Linked DNA regions of Homo sapiens: regions 2 and 3 are each linked to region 1. Evidence: promoter capture Hi-C in human tissues and cell types (Jung and others, 2019). All regions are on one chromosome and are shown on one strand. The core of a region is centred on a gene start or on the middle of the fragment in contact, and the rest is flanking DNA. Distances in the headings are between cores, read along the strand shown.

The links. The method cuts DNA at HindIII sites, captures the fragments that hold promoters and counts their contacts. A contact is called where the count stands out against the background at its distance.
Region 2: a fragment that was not itself captured here is called in contact with the fragment with the promoter of HCAR2 in region 1 in 4 of the 25 tissues and cell types used here (IMR-90 fibroblasts, heart left ventricle, lymphoblastoid cells and 1 more).
Region 3: a fragment that was not itself captured here is called in contact with the fragment with the promoter of HCAR2 in region 1 in 3 of the 25 tissues and cell types used here (H1 embryonic stem cells, mesenchymal stem cells and mesendoderm cells).

The regions. Positions count from the first base shown.
Region 1 is chr12:122,701,892-122,704,681 of GRCh38, forward strand. It overlaps HCAR2 (hydroxycarboxylic acid receptor 2), which reads right to left and starts at 1,466. Exons shown (of 1, transcript NM_177551.4): 1 at 1-1,466. The coding sequence starts at 1,392. The coding sequence ends at 301. The HindIII fragment of the contact is 9,565 bases long and covers 1-2,790 here.
Region 2 is chr12:122,622,577-122,625,366 of GRCh38, forward strand. It overlaps KNTC1 (kinetochore associated 1), which reads left to right. Exons shown (of 64, transcript NM_014708.6): 62 at 1-31; 63 at 2,022-2,112. Among named protein-coding and RNA genes, the nearest start is that of MIR9902-1, 72 kb to the right of the region's middle. The HindIII fragment of the contact is 3,781 bases long and covers 1-2,790 here.
Region 3 is chr12:122,780,826-122,783,615 of GRCh38, forward strand. It overlaps CCDC62 (coiled-coil domain containing 62), which reads left to right. Exons shown (of 13, transcript NM_201435.5): 3 at 339-505. Among named protein-coding and RNA genes, the nearest start is that of CCDC62, 7.6 kb to the left of the region's middle. The HindIII fragment of the contact is 3,682 bases long and covers 1-2,790 here.

The DNA.
Region 1 (2,790 bases), core at 216-2,715:
CAACTCTGCTCAGCAGAAATGCCTACAATTTGCCCATCTTCAGTCCTGCGAGCGTCAGAGATGAAGCAAAAGTTTCAGATGCCTAGAAGCTTTACTCTCTATTCCTCCAGGATTCCTGCGGTCACACCTTGCAACCAGTCTCCCACTCATCTGCCACCGTTTCCCTAAATCGCATTCTCTGAATCTGGAAGTTCCAGGAAACCTTAGGCCGAGTCCAGTGACATTACTCGATGCAACAGCCCAACTGTTTCTCCAGAGATCCTGGTTCTTGGTGACAATGTCCCTTCTTGGCATGGTTATTTAAGGAGAGGTTGGGCCCAGATAAGAGGGGCTCCATGGCTCACCGGAGTTGGCCATTAACGCCTCTGGAGCGCCTCTGGTTTTGTTGGGGTCCCCTGTGAGCTCGACGCTCGTGCTGCGGTTATTATCTGGCTCACCTGTCATCTTCCTCTGGAGGCAGCGGTTGATCAAAGTGGAGAAGAAGTTGGGAAAGGATGGGCTGGAGAAGTAGTACACCACGGGGTCCAGCATGCTGTTCATGTAGGTGAAGCTGAGAGTGATAAAGAACGCCAGGTCCACCGAGCGGTACACTTCACAATTCTGCGTGCCCGAAGTGTGCAGGAGCCAGAAGATGCGGATCCGCACAACCACGCTGGGAAGGAAGCAGATGACAAAGACGATGGCCACCACCATGATGAAGGTGATGGCTCTCTTGATCTTGGCATGCCGGTCCATTTGTCTCTGCCGCAGGCTCCAGATAATTCTGGCTGAGCAGAACAGGATGATGCCCAGGGGCAGGAAGAACTCCAGGAGGAACATGGCTTCGTGCCACTGGAAGGTATGGCAGATGCTGAAGCTGCTGCACAAATTTGCACCGCCATTCTGGATCGGCATCTTCTTCTTCAGGAGGTGGACTGTCAGGCCAATAGTGATGCCCCACAGAAGGCAAGAGATGATGGCTGCTGTCCGATTGGAGATCTTGTTCAGGGCGTGGTGGGGATGGACCACCCGGAAATACCTGTCTACCGCCACCACCGTGAGGAAGATGATGCTGCCCTGGCGGTTCATAGCCAACATGAAGAGCATCAGCCGGCAAGGGATGTCCCCAAACTTCCAGTCCCAACGCCTCACATAGTTGTCCATCAGGAAGGGCAGGCAGATGATCAGTAGAAAGTCAGCCACTGCCAGGTTGAACAGGAAAATCCGGCTGGATTTCCAGGACTTGAGGTGGAAACAGAAAATCCACAGGGCAAGGCCATTGCCCAGAAGCCCGAAGATAAACTCCAGCCCCAACACCGGCGGCAACACCTTGACAATGAAGTCATCTCGGAACACACAGCAGTTCTTCTTGTCTATTTCCAGAAAGTGATCCTGCAGATGGTGCCGATTCATGAGTGCGGCTAGTGAGTCCGATGGAGCGCCTCGCCTAGTGAATGCTCCAGCAAGGAGGTGTGTGTCTGTGTGGTGAACGTGTGGTTCCACGCCTGCCTTTATGTCATGTCAGGGTGTTGAAATAGATGACTGAATGGTTACCAGGAAACTACGAAATCTCTAAAAAAAAAAAAAAAAAAAAAAGCCAGCAAGGCTCTTATGCAACCTGCTGTTTGCATAAACAAGTAATAAGAATCCCCTGGGCAGACGGGAACCCACAAAATGTCTTAAATGTAAAGGATAAGTTTAGGCAAGCCGACTGTCATTCGAAAATCAGTGAAACATGAAGGACATCCCTTTGGAAGGCTGGGTGCTTGTATGCCAACTGAGTACTCAACGTTGCAGAATTAATTCACCGTCATCTGCTTGGCTGACATAATTAACAAAACAACAACAATAGCAATAACAATTTTTGGTGCCAAACAGTGAGGTTTTCCAGAAACACTAAGAATTAGCATGAAAAATTAACAGGCATATGACATAAACAGTAGCAGACATATGATTTCTTTTGGAAATGCTGAGAAGACAGTAGTTGCCTGTTTGATGAGGACAGACTGGTTGAATTTGACCACTTTTCCTATGCTACCTTTCTGTACAAACATGGAGTGCTTTTCCATATCAGAACTCTGCCATTCATCTCCAGTTAGGAAAAAAAAAATAGCCTGCTGGAGAGTGTAATATTTCATAAGACATTTGAAAACTTGAGCCCAGTTTCAGTGGCATGTTAACATAAGTTGGGTTTTTTGTTTGTTTATATTAGATTTTGATATGCTTCTGTGCTCAAGTGATTTATTTTTAAGTATGTGATTTCTTTTTTTTGCAAACTTTGAATTAATGAGAAAAAGGATTCATGAGGCTAGTCGTAAGCTGTAGCAAATCGGGTGTACTTTGTGCTACAAATTTGTTTTTCTGTGTCGCTCTGCATGAAGAGGGGTACCTTAGGATAGAGCATGGGGTTAGTACCCCATAAGCTGTCTGTTCTAGACAGCCCAGGAAACTGGTCAGTAAGAAAGTTGGTTGCAGGTCCCTGAAACAAACAAAAAACTGGATGAGGTCTCTAACTTGTTTTATGTCCTTGGGACCTTAGGATGTGATTTTTTTTTTTTGAGACAGAGTCTCACTCTGTCACCCAGGCTGGAGAACGGTGGAACAATCTCAGCTCACTGCAACCTCCGCCTCCCAGGTTCAAGCAATTCTTCTGCCTCAGCCTCCTGAGTATCTGGGACTACAGGCGTGCGCCACCACGCCCAGCTAATTTTTTGTATTTTTAGTAAAGACGAGGTTTCACTGTGTTGGCCAGGCTGGTCTCAAACTCCTGACCTTGTGATCCGTCTGCCTCGGCCTCCCAAAGTGCTGGGA
Region 2 (2,790 bases), core at 75-2,574, 79 kb before region 1:
AGCTAGTGAACTATTTGGCAAATGACTTAAGGTAAGTTAATTAAAAAAAAAAAAACTTACTGTGGAATTTCCTTAAAATCTATCTTTATAAGCTGGGCACGATGGCTCACGACTGTAATCCTAGCACTTTGGGAAGCTGAGGTGGGTGGATCACCTGAGGTTGAGAGTTCAAAACCAGCCTGACCAACATGGAGAAACCCTGTCTCTACTAAAAATACAAAATTAGCCGGGCATGGTGGCACATACCTGTAATCCCAGCTACTAGGGAGGATAAGGCAGGAGAATCTCTTCAACCCGGGAGGCAGAGGTTGCAGTGAGCCGAGATCGCACCATTGCACTCCAGCCTGGGCAACAGGAGCGAAACTCTGTCTCAAAAAAAAAAAAATCTATCTTTATGTTGGAGCAGAATGTCAACTGTAGAGCTATTTGGTTGTAATTAAAAGCTCAAAATATTACATCTCTCATTACTGCACATATCCAAAAGTTAATCATTTAATAACCCAATTTCTTGGAATATGACCTTAGAATCTGACAATTAAACAGGTCATCTGAACCCCCAAATCAAGTGTCTCACAGCCCTGTTCTAAATCCTACATTACAATTTTATGTCTAGACACTTGCTCAGAACATTAATGACTTTATGTAGCATCACTTTTGTTAAACCTGGTTATCTAATTTTCCAGCACCCACAAGTTTAGAAACAATAAGCTTCTTGGGATAGAGCTGGGGGTGGATATGGAAACTGAACGGGAGAAGGAAGAAGTGGGCTGACACTAAAGAAAGGGAAGTTCAAGACCGCAGTACACACCAGATCCATCCCTGCATGTGGTCTAGCCATGTTGGCGCTTGAGAGGTCTTTCTTTCTCATTACCACTCCATGGATTTCCATCTGCTTGTTTATCTCTTGTGATCCAGCCATAATTAGATATTGTCATTTTTGAGCAAGTATTTTTTGAGTTATAATTGATACATATAATAAGCTGGACATACTTGAAGTCTGCAATTTAGTAAATTTTGACATATGTATACCTATAAAGCCATCACCACAATCAAGAGAGTGAACATAATTCTCTGAAAGTTTCCTCATGCCCTCTGTGAAGTTGATTACATGAATTAGGTCATTCTTGTGATACCCAAATTCATCAGAGTCGAGGGGCCCAGGGGAAAAGCACTCAGAGTACAAAACATTGCTCCAAAAACATAATTCTGGCCGGGCGCAGTGGCTTACTCCTGTAATCCCAGCACTTTGGGAGGCCGAGGCGGGTGGATCACCTGAGGTTAGGAGTTCAAGACCAGCCTGGCCAACATGATGAAACCCTGTCTCTACTAAAAATACAAAAAGTTAGCCGAGCATGGTGGCGCATGCCTGTAATCCCAGCTACTCGGGAGGCTAAGGCAGGAGAATCGCTTGAACCCAGGAGGTGGAGGTTGCAGTGAGCCGAGATCGCACCATTGCACTCCAGCCTGTGCAACAAGAGTGAAACTCTGTCTCACAAAAAAGAAAAAAAAGAACAATGTGTAACATGTCTCTTTTTCATAAAACCTCTAACCTTCTCTTTGTTCTTTGGACAATCCAGAGACTACCCAGTCTATGTATATGCCCCAAATTGGAATTATTTCTTCCCAAATAAAACATTAAATTCAGAGATTGGTCTTTACATTTTAATTTTGACTTCAATGCCTCTTTTTCTTTTCTTTTCTTTTCTTTTTGAAATAGGGTCTTGCTTTGTCACCCAGGCTGGAGTGCAGTGGTACAAACGTGGCTCACTGCTGCCCCAACCTCCTGGGTTCAAGCGATCCTCCTACCTCAGTCTCCAGAGTAGCTGGGACTACAAGTGTGCAACACCACACCTGGCTAATTTTATATTTTTTGTAGAGACAGGGCTTTGCCATGTTGCCCAGGCTAGTCTCAAACTCCTGGACCCAAGCCATCTGTACATCTTGGCCTCCCTGAGTGCCGGGATTGTAGGCACAAGGCACTGTGCTTGGCCTAACACTTCTTTTTCTTTTTGATTTTGTAGTTTAGATGAAGCTTCAGTCTTGATAACTGAATATTCAAAGCACTGCGGGAAACCTGTGCCTCCAGACACTGCTCCCTGTGAAATTCTGAAGGTAAAGCTGATGGAAAGTTCTTAGGTTCTAACTTGACATTGTTTATATTCCTAGGGCCTTAAAATTGACAAGCCTTTTCTAGTGTTCTGGAGATAAATGTATTTTTATGTGTAACTGTAATTTTTATATTTTACTTTTTGTGTTAGAGAGTTCTAAACTAGAAATCAAGAGACCACAGTTCTAATCTCAGCCCTGCCACTGGGCAGCAAAGCCTAATGTGGGCTTAGTCTTCAGATCTGGACCCCATGGTCTCTCAGGTGCTTTCCAGCATTACCATTCCTCATAAGGTGGTGTTTTTAATATTGAAGCAGGTGAAAAACTGAATTCTAAAAGGTGTTGATTATTGTCATGCTTGGGTATTAATTGCTTTTTAAATTAATTATTATTCTTTAATTACCTAAAACGTATATTCACTGCAGAAAAAAAAGAAGTATGGCTGGGCACGGTGGCTCACACCTGTAATCCCAGCACTTTGGGAGGCCAAGGGGCAGATTACCTGAGGCCAGGAGTTCAAGACCAGCCTGGCCAACATGGTGAAACCCCGTCTCTACTAAAAATACAAAAATTAGCCAGGCGTGGTGGCACACGCCTGTAATCCCAGCTACTCGGGAGGCTGAGGCAGGAGAATTGCTTGAGCCCGGGATACGGAGGTTGCAGTGAGCTGAGGTCATGCCACTG
Region 3 (2,790 bases), core at 120-2,619, 79 kb after region 1:
TTATATGGTTCAAATTAAGCTATAATTTTGAGGCATGCGGTCACTGGTAAAACTGTAATGGAAAGCAAGGAAGTGATTACTCTAAGATCAGGGTCATGGTTGGGAACGCGGAAACTGGAGTGATTATGTTCGGGAAGTGACCTCCAGAGGCTTCCAATTGCTCACAGTTCTGTTTCTTGATTAGGTGTGATATTGTGCATTTCATAATAAAAGGTTTTAAAAGAAGATTGTCTTTTTAAAAATTCTCTACCACATTTTTACCTTTTAACCACCCATTTTGAAAATAATGCCTTTTAAGCTGAAGGTGTGACTACAAATTATTGATGAACTTCCCTCAGGTGAACTACATAAAAGAACTGAAATAATCAGGTCACTCACGAAGAAGGTAAAAGCTCTTGAATCCAATCAAATGGAATGCCAAACAGCTCTCCAAAAGACCCAACTACAGCTTCAGGAAATGGCTCAAAAGGCAACGCATTCTTCTCTTCTCTCTGAAGACCTTGAGGTTGGGATTAGTTTTTGATAAGCTTCACTAGTCCAAATTCCCTTTGTGTTTCAGTTATTGAAAAATTAGATTTGACCGGGCACGGTGGCTCACTCCTGTAATGCCAACACTTTGGGAGGCCGAGGCAGGTGGATCACCTGAGGTCAGGAGTTCGAGACCAGCCTGGCCAGCGTGGAGAAACCCCATCTCTACTAAAAATACAAAATTAGCCGGGCGTGGTGGCACACGCCTGTAGTCCCAGCTACTCAGGAGGCTGAGGCAGGAGAATCGTTTGAACCCGGGAGGTGGAGGTTGCGGTGAGCCAAGATCGCGCCATTGCACTCCAGTCCGGGCAACAAGAGCGAAACTCTGTCTCAAAAAAAAAAAGAAAAAAGAAAAATTAGATTTAAATGTTTCATTAAAAATGCATGTGAGGCTGGGCACAGTGGCTTGGTGGCTCATGCCTGTTATCCCAGCTCTTTGTTTGGGAGGCTGAGGTGGGAGGATTGCTTGAGCCCAGGAATTCACGACCAGGCTTGGCAACATGGCAAATGCCTGTCTCTATAAAAAGAAGAAATACAAAAATGAGCTGGGTGTGGGGGTGCACTGCTGTGGTCCCAGCTACTTGGGAGGCTGAGGCAGGAGGATCACTTGAGCCCAGGAGGTCAAGGCTGCAGTAAGCTGTGATTGTGCCACTACACCCCAGCCTGGGTGACAAAAAAAAAAAAAAAAAAGCGTATGTAAGCCAAGCACAGTGGTGTACGCCTGTAGTCCCAGCCTCTGGGGAGGCTGAGGCAGAAACATTGCTTGGGCCCAGGAGTCCAAGTCCAGCCTGGGCAACATAGTGAGACCTCATCTCAACAAAAAACAACAACAGCAAGCAACCAATGCAAAAATGCATACGTGTGTGTACGAAGGTATCTACACTCATCCACCCCTTGTAGTTTTGTGTTTCTCCTACAGTTTTGGTTAGCTGCACGGCATTATCCTGTCTTAGAGATTGAGCTTCAGTACAACGCTTTTTAACCGTTATGCCATTTGGTTTAGTAGCATCTACCATTTAATCAACAATGAGTTATTTTAGAAAGCTTTCCTCAAAGATGAGAGGGTATAATCAAGTTTTGGTAGCCTCAATGATGTTTTCTAAATTATTGTGTGTTTTTTTTGAGATGGAGTTTCACTCTTGTTGCCCAGGCTGAAGTGCAATGGCACGATCTCGGCTCACCATAACCTCTGCCTCCTGGGTTCAAACAATTCTCTTGCCTCACTCCCCCGAGTAGCTGGGATTACAGGCATGCACCACTATGCCCAGCTAATTTTGTATTTTTAGTAGAGACGGAGTTTCTCCATGTTGGCCAGGCTGGTCTCCAACGCCCGACCTCAGGTGATCCGCCCGCCTCAGCCTCCCAAAGTGCTGGGATTACAGGTGTGAGCCACTGTGCCCAGCCAATTATTGTGTCTTATCTCATAATGTTAGTGGCATATTGGGAATAAAAACTGTAAGACTGGTTTTTTGAGCCCGGCATGGTGGCTCACACCTATAATCCCAGCACTTTGGGAGGCCGAGGTGGGCGGTGACTTGAGGTCCAAAGTCTGAGATCAGCCTGGCCAACATGGTGAAACCCCGTCTCTACTAAAAATTCAAAAATTAACCAGGTGTGGTGGTGGGCACCTGTAGTCCCAACTACTCAGGAGGCTGAGGTAGGAGAGTCAATTGAACCTGAGAGGCAGAGGTTGCAGTGAGCCGAGATCGCACCACTGCACTCCAGCCTGGGGGAAAGAGCGAGACTCCTTGTCAAAAAAAAAGATGGATTTTTTTGGTTTTCTCTTCTAACTGGTCAGTCATCAGATATTTTTTGAGTTCATGCTTATAAGAGGTGCAGAAAGCCAGCTTGTTTATTTGTTATATCCTTCATTCTTTTTTTTTTTTTTTCCTGAGACGGAGTCTCGTTCTGTCGCCCAGGCTGGAGTGCAGTGGTGCCACCTCGGCTCACTGCAAGCTCCGCCTCCCGGGTTCACACTATTCTCCTGCCTCAGCCTCCCTAGTAGCTGGGACTACAGGCGCCCGCCACCACGCCCGGCTAATTTTTTGTATTTTAGTAGAGACGGGGTTTCACCGTGTTAGCCAGGATGGTTTCGATCTCCTGACCTCGTGATCTGCCCGCCTCGGCCTCCCAAAGTGCTGGGATTACAGGTGTGAGCCACCGCGCCTGGCCCCATTCTTTTATTTCTTAGTGATATTTCATATACGTCTTGGTAATATAATGAGTCTTTATTCATAATAGTATAGATTTTTATTTTATGGT